2 separate regions of the Homo sapiens genome follow, and region 2 is linked to region 1. Evidence: promoter capture Hi-C in 16 types of primary human blood cells and fetal thymus (Javierre and others, 2016). All regions are on one chromosome and are shown on one strand. The core of a region is centred on a gene start or on the middle of the fragment in contact, and the rest is flanking DNA. Distances in the headings are between cores, read along the strand shown.

Region 1 (5,040 bases), core at 2,480-4,979:
GAGAACATTTTGTATTTTAATATTTTTGTAATAAGATGATCCTTTAAATCAGTAAAAAAATATGTACTTACATACATATATATAAAATATATATAGCTATGGACTGAATTGTGTCCCTCAAAATTCATATGTCAAGACCCTAACCCTCATGTGACTGTATATATTTGGAAACAGGATCTTTAGGAAGTAATTAAGGCTAACTTAAGTTATAAGGATGGGGTCCTAATCCGATAGAACTGGCGACCTTATAAGAAGGGGAAGAGAGGAAGACAGAGATCATTTACCTCCTCCTAAATTGAGCACACAGAAAATGGCAGCTGCCAGCGGCTAAAATGAAACTTACCTTGTTGGCACCTTAATCTTAAACCTCTCAGTCTCCAGAACTGTGAGAAAACAAATTTGTGTTGCTTATGCTACCCACTTTATGGTATTTCGTTATGACAGCCTGAGTTGACTGCCATAGACACACACAAACACACACACTGGCAAGGAGACATATAATTCTAAGAAATGTTAAAAAATGTAACTGCTATAAAAATATGGAGTAAATGATATGGGAAGAGTGCAGAGGAGGTGGCATTTTAGCTCAGCTAGGAGGATGAGTAATCCAGGCTAGAGATCTGAAGGACCTGAACTTGGGCAGTGGCCTTAGAAAAAGAGGTTTGTACTGTTTCAAGAGAACCCCATTTGATTTCTCGGCTGCATCTGACTAGCACCTGGTCTGCCCATGGATACTAGAGGATAACCACACATCTGACAGAGGAAGAGCATTACAGTCTCATGGTTTTCCGACAGGGTGCCAGCTTTCCCGTGGGTCCCCAGTCCACTCCCTCTCCCTAGCCCCTTCATATTTGATTCTCAATCTACTGCTCTTCTCATGCATTTTTTTCTACACTTCTTCAGGTCTCAGCAGATGGCATTCCCCTTCCTACACACCCATACCTAGTTAGTCACCACATCTTAGAAGCCACCTCCAAGTCATCTTTCCTCTTCTTTTCCCCAACAACACTGCCTCAATCCAGAATCTCATCACTTCTTTCCTACACGTATGTGTTAACTTAAAACTCACAAGATCTATATGTTCAGAAAAGGAGACTTTATTTCTTATAAGGAGATACAGCCTGCAAGGTGGCCCTCTCATGGGCTGGGAAGCACAGCCTCCAGCAAGGACCAGAGACAGGCACTTTAAAGGAAGAGGAGCTGGGGTAGGAGCTTTATGCTGAATAGGTTGGCTAAACATACATATTCAACAGGTTACAGGAAGAGCTATGAATATTCATAAAAGTAGTCCTGATACATGCGTATGGAACAACATGCATGTTACATACAACCTGTGTTCACCTTGGGGTGGAGACTTAATATTTAATGTATTACAGTTAGGCTCTGTACCTCAAAAGGTGAAGCAGAGACGAAGGCACACAAGTGCATGGCCTCTGTAAAGTGGCCAGAACCAGCCTATGGTCAGTGGTCTTATCTGGAGAACGTTACTGAAATCAGTCTCTTGTGCAATCAAAGCTGTAGCTATGGTTGGTATAGCAGGGGTTCAGTTAGTGTCTGTGAGCTGGATTAGTTGTAATTGTTTTAATATTGCTTCTCTCTAGGCCAGTGGTTGTTTAGCTGCCAGAGGGAAAAAAAAAACCTCTTGTGGTAGAACATAGTTTATTTTTTAAGTGTAGGGGGTGCATGACTTAACCCTTGCCTGGCATGGCCTTAGGTCCTGTTTATAATTTGGTATCCTATTCCCACAAAGAGTTTGTTCTGTCAATGTTATGATCTTTATTGTAACATTAACATGTTAAACATAGGCTGACTTCCTAGAACTAATTTGAAAGGAAAACCCTAACTTTCCACGCCTAAGTAGTTGCTAGTCAGTTGTGTCTAAACTACAAAAGGGAGGGGGTATAATGAGGCATGTCTGATCTCCTGTCCCATCATGGCTGGGGTCCCCTTGGCCAAGAAAGGGATCTATCCAGTCAGTCGACAGACCCCTTACTTAGGATTTTATTTTTAGTTTATATATATATAAATGGCTTCACAACGAATTTCCTGACTTTTAATTTGCCCCTCTGTTCATCCTCCACCCTGTTGCCAGAGAGAACTTTCTAAATCTCAGGATGTCACACTTCTGATTAAAATTGTTCCATGGTTCTCTGGATTTCAGGGTCAAGTTCAGATCCTTTCCTCAGTACACCCCTGCCTGCCTCTCTAGCGCAAATCTTTCACAATCCCCTGACTGGTACCATCATTCTGGTCACACTCAACTAGTCCTCTCGCTGTCCTGTTACTTCTTGCACTTTCTGTTACTCTGTATGGAGTTCCCTTCCCGTTTTAAGGCAGAAGAATATGGTATGGCGGTAGGGAACCTAATGCCCTTTCTCGCTGACTTCCTAGAACTAAATTGAAGGAAAATCCTTACTGTCCACGCTTAAGTGAATAAAGGGCCAGATACTACTCCCTTTGCAAGCCCCAACCTGTTCTGCGCAGATTTGGGAAATTGAAAGTACCTCTGATTGGTTGCTTTTTGTAACCAATCAGACGTTTGCATAGAAGTGTAACTTTGTAACTTCTTCAGCCTCTGATTGGTTGCTTTGCGCAACCATTCAGACTGATTGCGGGCCACCACTTCATTTACATGAAGTGAACTCCAAGTGGCCAATGGGAAACCTCTAGGGGGTATTTGGACCCGAGAAGACTCTGTATCCAGGGCCCTTGAGCTGCTGTCTCACTCTCCCACACTCTGGAGTGTACTTTCATTTTCAACAAATCTCTGCTTTTGTTGCTTTATTCTTTCCTTGCTTTGTGCGTTTTGTCCAATTCTATGTTCAAAACGCCAAGAACTTGGACACCCTACACCAGTAACACTTTCAGCCAACTTTTTGTCGTTCAAGATCAAGGCCCGGACTTACCTTTTCCAGGAAACCTCCCCAGATCCCTTCTGATTTAGGTACCGTCCTCTGTGCTCCCTGTGATTAAATCAGCCTCTACACATATTACACAATCACTATGCTCTGATTTCCGTTTACTTGTTTCTCTTTTGCAATCTGTGTCATATTCCTCTTTTTATCCGCCGTGCCAAGTATGGAGCCTGTCACATAGCAGGCCTCATAAATACTTATTGAAAGAATTAATAATAGACGTAGAACCAACGGGCTTAGTAAGCCCCTGGAGAAAGGAATCAAAGATGTTTCTGAGGCCTCTATATCAGGAAGTGCGGAAATTTCATGGTTTGAGAATGGGCAGGAAAGATCATTTGTGAGCTGTATTTAATGCAAAAGTTGCTCCCCCATCCTGATTTCTTAGCTCACTGGGCCAATCGGCGGAAGGACAGGTGGGGCTCAAATTAGGAGAAAAAAACCACACTTCCCGTCATGCCTCTGGGCACCGCTCCCGTTTCCCCCTCTTTGTCACCGCCTCTTCCCCACGGAAATGAAAGGAGCACTTCCGGGTTCGGCAATAACCTGGAGCCGGCGGCGTAGGTTGGCTCTTTAGGGCTTCACCCCGAAGCTCCACCTTCGCTCCCGTCTTTCTGGAAACACCGCTTTGATCTCGGCGGTGCGGGACAGGTACCTCCCGGCTGCTGCGGGTGCCCTGGATCCAGTCGGCTGCACCAGGCGAGCGAGACCCTTCCCTGGTGGAGGCTCAGAGTTCCGGCAGGGTGCATCCGGCCTGTGTGTGGCGCGAGGCAGGGAAGCCGGTACCCGGGTCCTGGCCCCAGCGCTGACGTTTTCTCTCCCCTTTCTTCTCTCTTCGCGGTTGCGGCGTCGCAGACGCTAGTGTGAGCCCCCATGGCAGATACGACCCCGAACGGCCCCCAAGGGGCGGGCGCTGTGGTAAGTGCGAGGGCAGGGTAGTCTGGCTTGATTTGCAAGAGTTAGGAAGAAGCAGGAAGCGTTGCGAGTCCCGAGGCGTTCCAGAAGCTCAGTGCATTCAGGAATGGGATTAATGAGTTGGGGTGGGGAAGTTGGAGCGGGGAGAGGGGAGGTCCTGAGCGAAGATATGGAGGGAACTACAAGTTTGTTTCTGAAGCGACAATAGGCTGACCTGGAGCTGGTGGCCCCCACCTGTATGCCATGGAAATTGGGCCTTCTTTCCTCTTCTCCCACCTCGGTCTTTTGTTTACCGTAGGCCCCAAGGTTAAAGATGCCGCATGAGATTGTGCCATGACACACATGATCCATGACACACACCACGTGGAGCACACGAGTGCCGGCAAAGAACGTTTCTGCCTAGTTTATACAATCGTATATAGAAATTATGCAAAGGGAGGAGAGCGGTGGTCTTTTTCTTCTTCACTTTGTTCTTTATGAAGAGAAATATCATTATGCTTTTGTAATTTTTTTAAGATGCTGATCTGGAGCTAACAAGTTATTTGTGCCCGGAGCATTGCTGTCCTCTACTTTTTAATCCATAAGTAGTTAAGTATTATTCTGTGTGACCACAATGCAGTTACCACATTTGGGAAATATTACCTAATATAAAATCCATGTGCAAATTTCCATAATTGTCCTTTAAAGCTGCTTTCTCTTCATCTGGGATTCTGTCAAAAAGCATGCATCGATGGGCTGGCGCAGTGGCTCACTCCTGTAAGCCCAGAACTTTGGGAGTCCAAGGCGGGAGGATCGCTTGAGTTCAGGAGTTAGAGACCAGCCTTGGAAACATAGCGAGACCTCATCTCTACTAGAAATCAAAGAAATTAGGCGGGGCGTGGTGGCTCACGCCTGTAATCTCAGCACTTTGGGAGGCCAAGGCGGGTGGATCGCTTGCGCCCGAGAAGTTGAAGCTGCCGTGAGCCAAGATCGCGCCACTGCACTCCAGCCTGGGTGATAGAGCAAAACCTTCTCTCAAAACAAACAAACAAACAAACAAACATAAATTAGCCGGTCGTGGAGGTGCGCTCCTATAGTCCCAGCATAGTCCCAGCTACTCAGGAGGCTGAGGTGGGTTGTGCTTTTGCGCTCCAGCCTGGGGTGACAGAGCGAGACCCTATCTCAGAAAGCATGCATTCAATTTACTGGCCATATCTTGTTTACTGCCTTTTAA
Region 2 (4,626 bases), core at 1,713-4,212, 4.2 Mb before region 1:
GCCTTACTGGAAGTAAGTATTTCACAGGGTTATGAGCAATGAGTTTAAAAATGCCTATGAAGGCTGGGCGCGGTGGCTCACACCTGTAATCCCTGCACTTTGGGAGGTCGAGAAGGGCGGATCACTTGAGGTCAGGAGTTACAAACCAGCATAGCCAACATGGGGAAGCCCCGATTCTACTAAAAAATACAAAAATTTGCCAGGCATGGTGGCGGGCGCCTATAATCCCAGCTACTAGGGAGGCTGAGGCAGGAGAATTGCTTGAGCCTGGGAGGTGGAGGTTGTAGTGAGCTGAGATCGCACCACTGCACCTCAGCCTGGGAGTCAGAGCAAGACTCTGTCTCAAAAAACAATAAAAATAAAAATAAATAAACAAATAAAAATGCGGCCGGGCGCGGTGGCTCACGCCTGTAATCCCAGCACTTTGGGAGGCCAAGGTGGGCGGATCACGAGGTCAGGAGATGGAGACCATCCTGGCTAACACGGTGAAACCCCGTCTCTACTAAAAATATAAAAAATTAGCCAGGCATGGTGGCGGGCGCCTGTAGTCCCAGCTACTCTGGAGGCTGAGGCAGGAGAATGGCGTGAACCCGGGAGGCGGAGCTTGCAGTGAGATCGCGCCACTGCACTCCAGCCTGGGCGACAGAGCAAGACTCCGTCTCAAAAAGAAAAAAATAAATAAAAATAAAAATGCATACAAAGTACTCAACCCAAAGCCTGGCACACAGCAGGCACTCAACAGTATTTCCCATTCCTTTCCCTCTACTTCCCTATGCTCAAGGTACAAACATTAACACCATCTTTGGTTGCAAGGGGATCAGATGTTGGCTGGTCAGAGCATCTTCTCTTTACACACGCCTCAAGATACTGGCAAATTTGTGCTCTGTATCCTTTCCTTTTTAGACACCTGTTTCTTCTTCCGCATTAATTTTCATCAAAAAAAAAAAAAGGCTGTCATGCAATTAGATGAGAGCTTTCATCAGTCACATTCTAGTCCTGAGACCTGGGTGTTGCTCAGAGGTCAAACCAAACACACACCCACTCTAGGGATGGATTTCTCCTGCTGATGATGGCTAATTACATGCATCATGTGCTGAATTTTTAATAATTTTACTCCCAGATTAAACTCTTCCCCAGATTCTGTTGCAACTGACTCTAACCCTCTAATGAATGTCTCCAACCTCACATCCAAGTGGAACCTGATTATGCACCTATGTGTCCCAGCAATCAAACGCAGGATGAAAATCAAAATGAACCAGCAGGGCATGGTGGCTCATGCCTGTAATACCAGCACTTTGGGAGGCCGAGGCAGGAGGATCACTTGAGGTCGGGAGTTCGAGACCAGCCTGGCCAATATGGCAAAACCCCATCTCTACTAAAAATACAAAAATTAGCCGGGCATGGTGGCACATGCCTGTAATCCCAGCTGCTCAGAAGGCTGAGGCAGGAGAATCACTTGAACCAGAGAGCTGGAGGTTGCAGTGAGCCGAGGTTGTGCCACTGCACTCCAGTCTGGGTGACAAAATGAGCCCCTGTATCAAAATAAGGAAAAGAAAAAAAAAATTGTCCCATCCAGTAAAACATGTCACTAGCTGCCATTTCCCCAGGTGGATGGCTAACGGAAATACGGGCCTGCTAAAAAGACTCAGGAGACAATATTATCCATCTCCTTCCCTTCCAACCTGCTCTGGTTTCTATGAAAAAGTGAAGGCCAAACTGCTAAGTCAGTGTAAAAGTTGTAAGCGACTGAAATGTTCTCAGGAGGAAGAGTTTATGGATGTTTATGGAGGAGACAGTCACTGTTGAAAGGCTTCCAGTTGCTTATTATTTGGGCCTGAGGAGGAACCACCGCTGAAATCAAGCTTGGAAGAGCTTGCTGACGTCAGATTCCCAGCTGTAGTAACCCCAAATGGCCAAGTAAGTATGTTTTTTTTTTAACTGCAGCTGTTAGGTGGCAATTAAGAGGGGAAGCGGTGGTAAGGAATCCCTAGTGTCTGTAATTATAAAAGCAAGGATGTGACATAGGACTTCCATAAAACTTACACCTCCTCTTAAGATTGATTTCAATTAAAAACTGCTTCATCGTTGGTGACACTTTAGCATCTCTGTTGGTGGCTTCCTGCCCTGACCACACAAGGTTCCTTTCGTGACGACAGGAATCAACAAAAAGAAGAAAAAAATGTAAGTTTACCAACGCGCCTTCCCTTTTTCCGAGCCTGATTTATACAGGATATATGGGAAGAAATGTGGACTCCTTGACCTGTTACAAGAATCCATCAACCACCCAAATAAATGGAAACGTGGAAAGAGATTCAAAGTCCTCCAGGTTTTAGGATATTTTAAGGTATTTAAAAGGGAGAAGGAGGCGCCGACAGCGCACCCGGTGCTCTGTGTCACGATCTTCCGCTCGCGGCGCCTTTGAGGACAAGGGCGGCGGGAAACGGGTCCGCGGGGTTCCGAGGCGAGCGGCCGTGGAGGAAGCGCCCCCGAAGAAGGCCTGGTCCCTACGCCCCGCACTGCCCAGCGCTGGGGAACACAGATCCTCGGAGGAGGCCCCAGGGAGGGAAGGCGGGAGCGGGGCCCGCGGGAGGGGAGGGACGGGAGCCGTTGCCACGCACCGCGCCCTGCCCGGACCGCCGCGGGACAGCCAGTTGTTCAGTGCCGGGATCCCGCGGCTGTGCCAGAAAGCAGGACGCCGCGGGGCTGCCGTCCCGACCCCTCGCTTCCTTCCGCGCTCCCGGGACCGGGCTCAGCACCCGGCGCCCCGGCTACGACCGGACACTCACCCGGAGCCACCAGCGGCGAACTCACGGCGCCTCCCACGAAGACAGCAGCGGCTAGGACGGCGGACCCCGGGAGTGCCCGCGGAGCCATCGCCGCGTCGCTTCGCCCTCCTCCCCCAGGGCGCCGCGTCCCGCGCTCGGGAAGGCAGAGCCGCTCCGGAGCCGGCGGGCTGATCGAGTGGCTGGGCTGGGCCCCAGGGAGCGGCGAACCCCGCCCCGCCATTGCCCCGCCCCACGCCACACCCACCTCGGCTCGGTCCCGCCTCTCCCCGCGCGCCCCGGGCTCCACCTAAGCCGGCACGAGGTCCACTCATGGCTCCGCCCCCGACTCCCCGCCCACCTCAGCCTGATCCCGCCTCTCCCTGCCATTCCCGCTTCCTTTCCAAACCCCGCAGCAGCCTCAGCGGCGTAGCTAGGCCATGGACACGCCCTCTTTCTCCACCCACCTCAGCTTGGCCCCGCCTCTCCCTACCGAGCCCCGGACTCCACCTAAGAAGGCACGTGGCCCATCCATGGCCCCGCCCTTTTCCCCACCCACAGCTCAGCCCGACCCCTCCTCTCCCGCTTCCTTTCCAAACCCAGCAGCAGCCTTGGCGGCGCAGTTAGGCTATAGCCCCGCCCTTGCGCCCTGCCCACCGTGGCCCGGCCGTGCCTCTACTTGCCAGGCCCGCTTCCTTTCCAAGCCGGGCCGGGATTACGCGGGAGCCCGGGGCGGGGGGAGGGTCGCCCGGGTGCAACCTCCCTCGGTCGCTGGGACTAGGCGGGCGTGGGAAGAGAAAGAGGGAGCGCGCCCCGAGAAGCACTGGACAGTCAGAAGCGGCCAGCACTGGAGTGAGCACAGGCTTTTTTCGCTGTTGGCATGTCTATCCACTAGCATTCCCCTCGGTTGCAGATCTAGGGAGTGATGCTGTGCTGGATGTCACGTTCTGTTGTTTGGAAATTAGCAGAAAAGATAACTTAAATTTCTTCCTCTGTTTGTTTGCATTTAAGCTGCTCCTATTGGGGAAAATACCTCTATGCATTTTCAGGAACAACTTGCCTTTTTTTTTTAATCGTGTGCTTGTATTGCACCTTGCGCATACTCCCGCAAAGTAGGTCTTTCAATGCCCAGACGCTTATTATCTCCTCACATCCTCACATCAGCTCTGCGAGGTGACTATTAGAGGCCAGGGAGTAAACCCACGATGTCTGGGCCACCATGATAAATTGTAATTATCTCATTGTCATTGTGTTTGCTCGCTGCTGTGCCCTCAGCGCCTGGATGGAGGACAGACAGCACACGCTAAGAGGTCAGAAGTGTTTTCTGAAGTTGAATCATCTTCACAAGCATTAATAGGACTCAGAGGCTCTCTCTGAATAGTTCCTTTTTACTGCCCTGTAGAGACTGTTGTTACTGGGCCATCAAGCATTTGCTTGAAGGAAATTAGGGCAGGACTTGAGCAAATACTCAACACCAGCAAGAAGAGGGGGTGCATGGAGGCTGTGGGTTTTCACAGGATGGGTCTCATCCTTGAGGTGACTGATAACCTCTAGTTTTCAGAGGACTATTTATTCTCTCACCGAGTCCTCCACGCAGTCTGCTGGACTATTATTACAAACATTGCATTGATGTGGGAATTGCCAGTGACAGAAGCTCAGGCCACTACAGTACAGATGGCTGAGGCTGAAGGATGGAGCCCCTGCCCTTTGAAGCCCAAGGAGGGCACTGCGCGTCCTGCGCTCAGTTGGCAGCGCATCCTACAGTCTGGCAGTCTTAGCAGGCAGCCTTTGCTAGTTTTATATCAACATAAACATTGAGAATGTGTGCGGAGGAAAGCGATCCATGTGGATTTCTAACTAAAAC

Evidence for each region. Contacts are between HindIII fragments. The CHiCAGO score rates a contact against its expected background, and 5 or more counts as called.
Region 2: the fragment with the promoter of RELL1 here is called in contact with the fragment with the promoter of TMEM33 in region 1 in 1 of 17 cell types (activated CD4 T cells); the score reaches 5.2 in activated CD4 T cells.

What each region holds. Positions count from the first base shown.
Region 1 is chr4:41,931,700-41,936,739 of GRCh38, forward strand. TMEM33 (transmembrane protein 33) reads left to right here and starts at 3,730. Exons shown (of 7, transcript NM_018126.3): 1 at 3,730-3,830. The coding sequence starts at 3,786. It overlaps LOC105374426 (a long non-coding RNA gene), which reads right to left and starts at 2,976. Exons shown (of 3, transcript NR_188374.1): 1 at 2,907-2,976. RefSeq lists enhancers at 3,570-3,749, 3,990-4,039, 4,050-4,119. The HindIII fragment of the contact is 15,520 bases long and covers 1-5,040 here.
Region 2 is chr4:37,683,414-37,688,039 of GRCh38, forward strand. RELL1 (RELT like 1) reads right to left here and starts at 2,963. Exons shown (of 7, transcript NM_001085400.2): 1 at 2,787-2,963. The coding sequence starts at 2,874. RefSeq lists silencers at 2,502-3,171, 3,352-3,661. The HindIII fragment of the contact is 3,799 bases long and covers 1,861-4,626 here.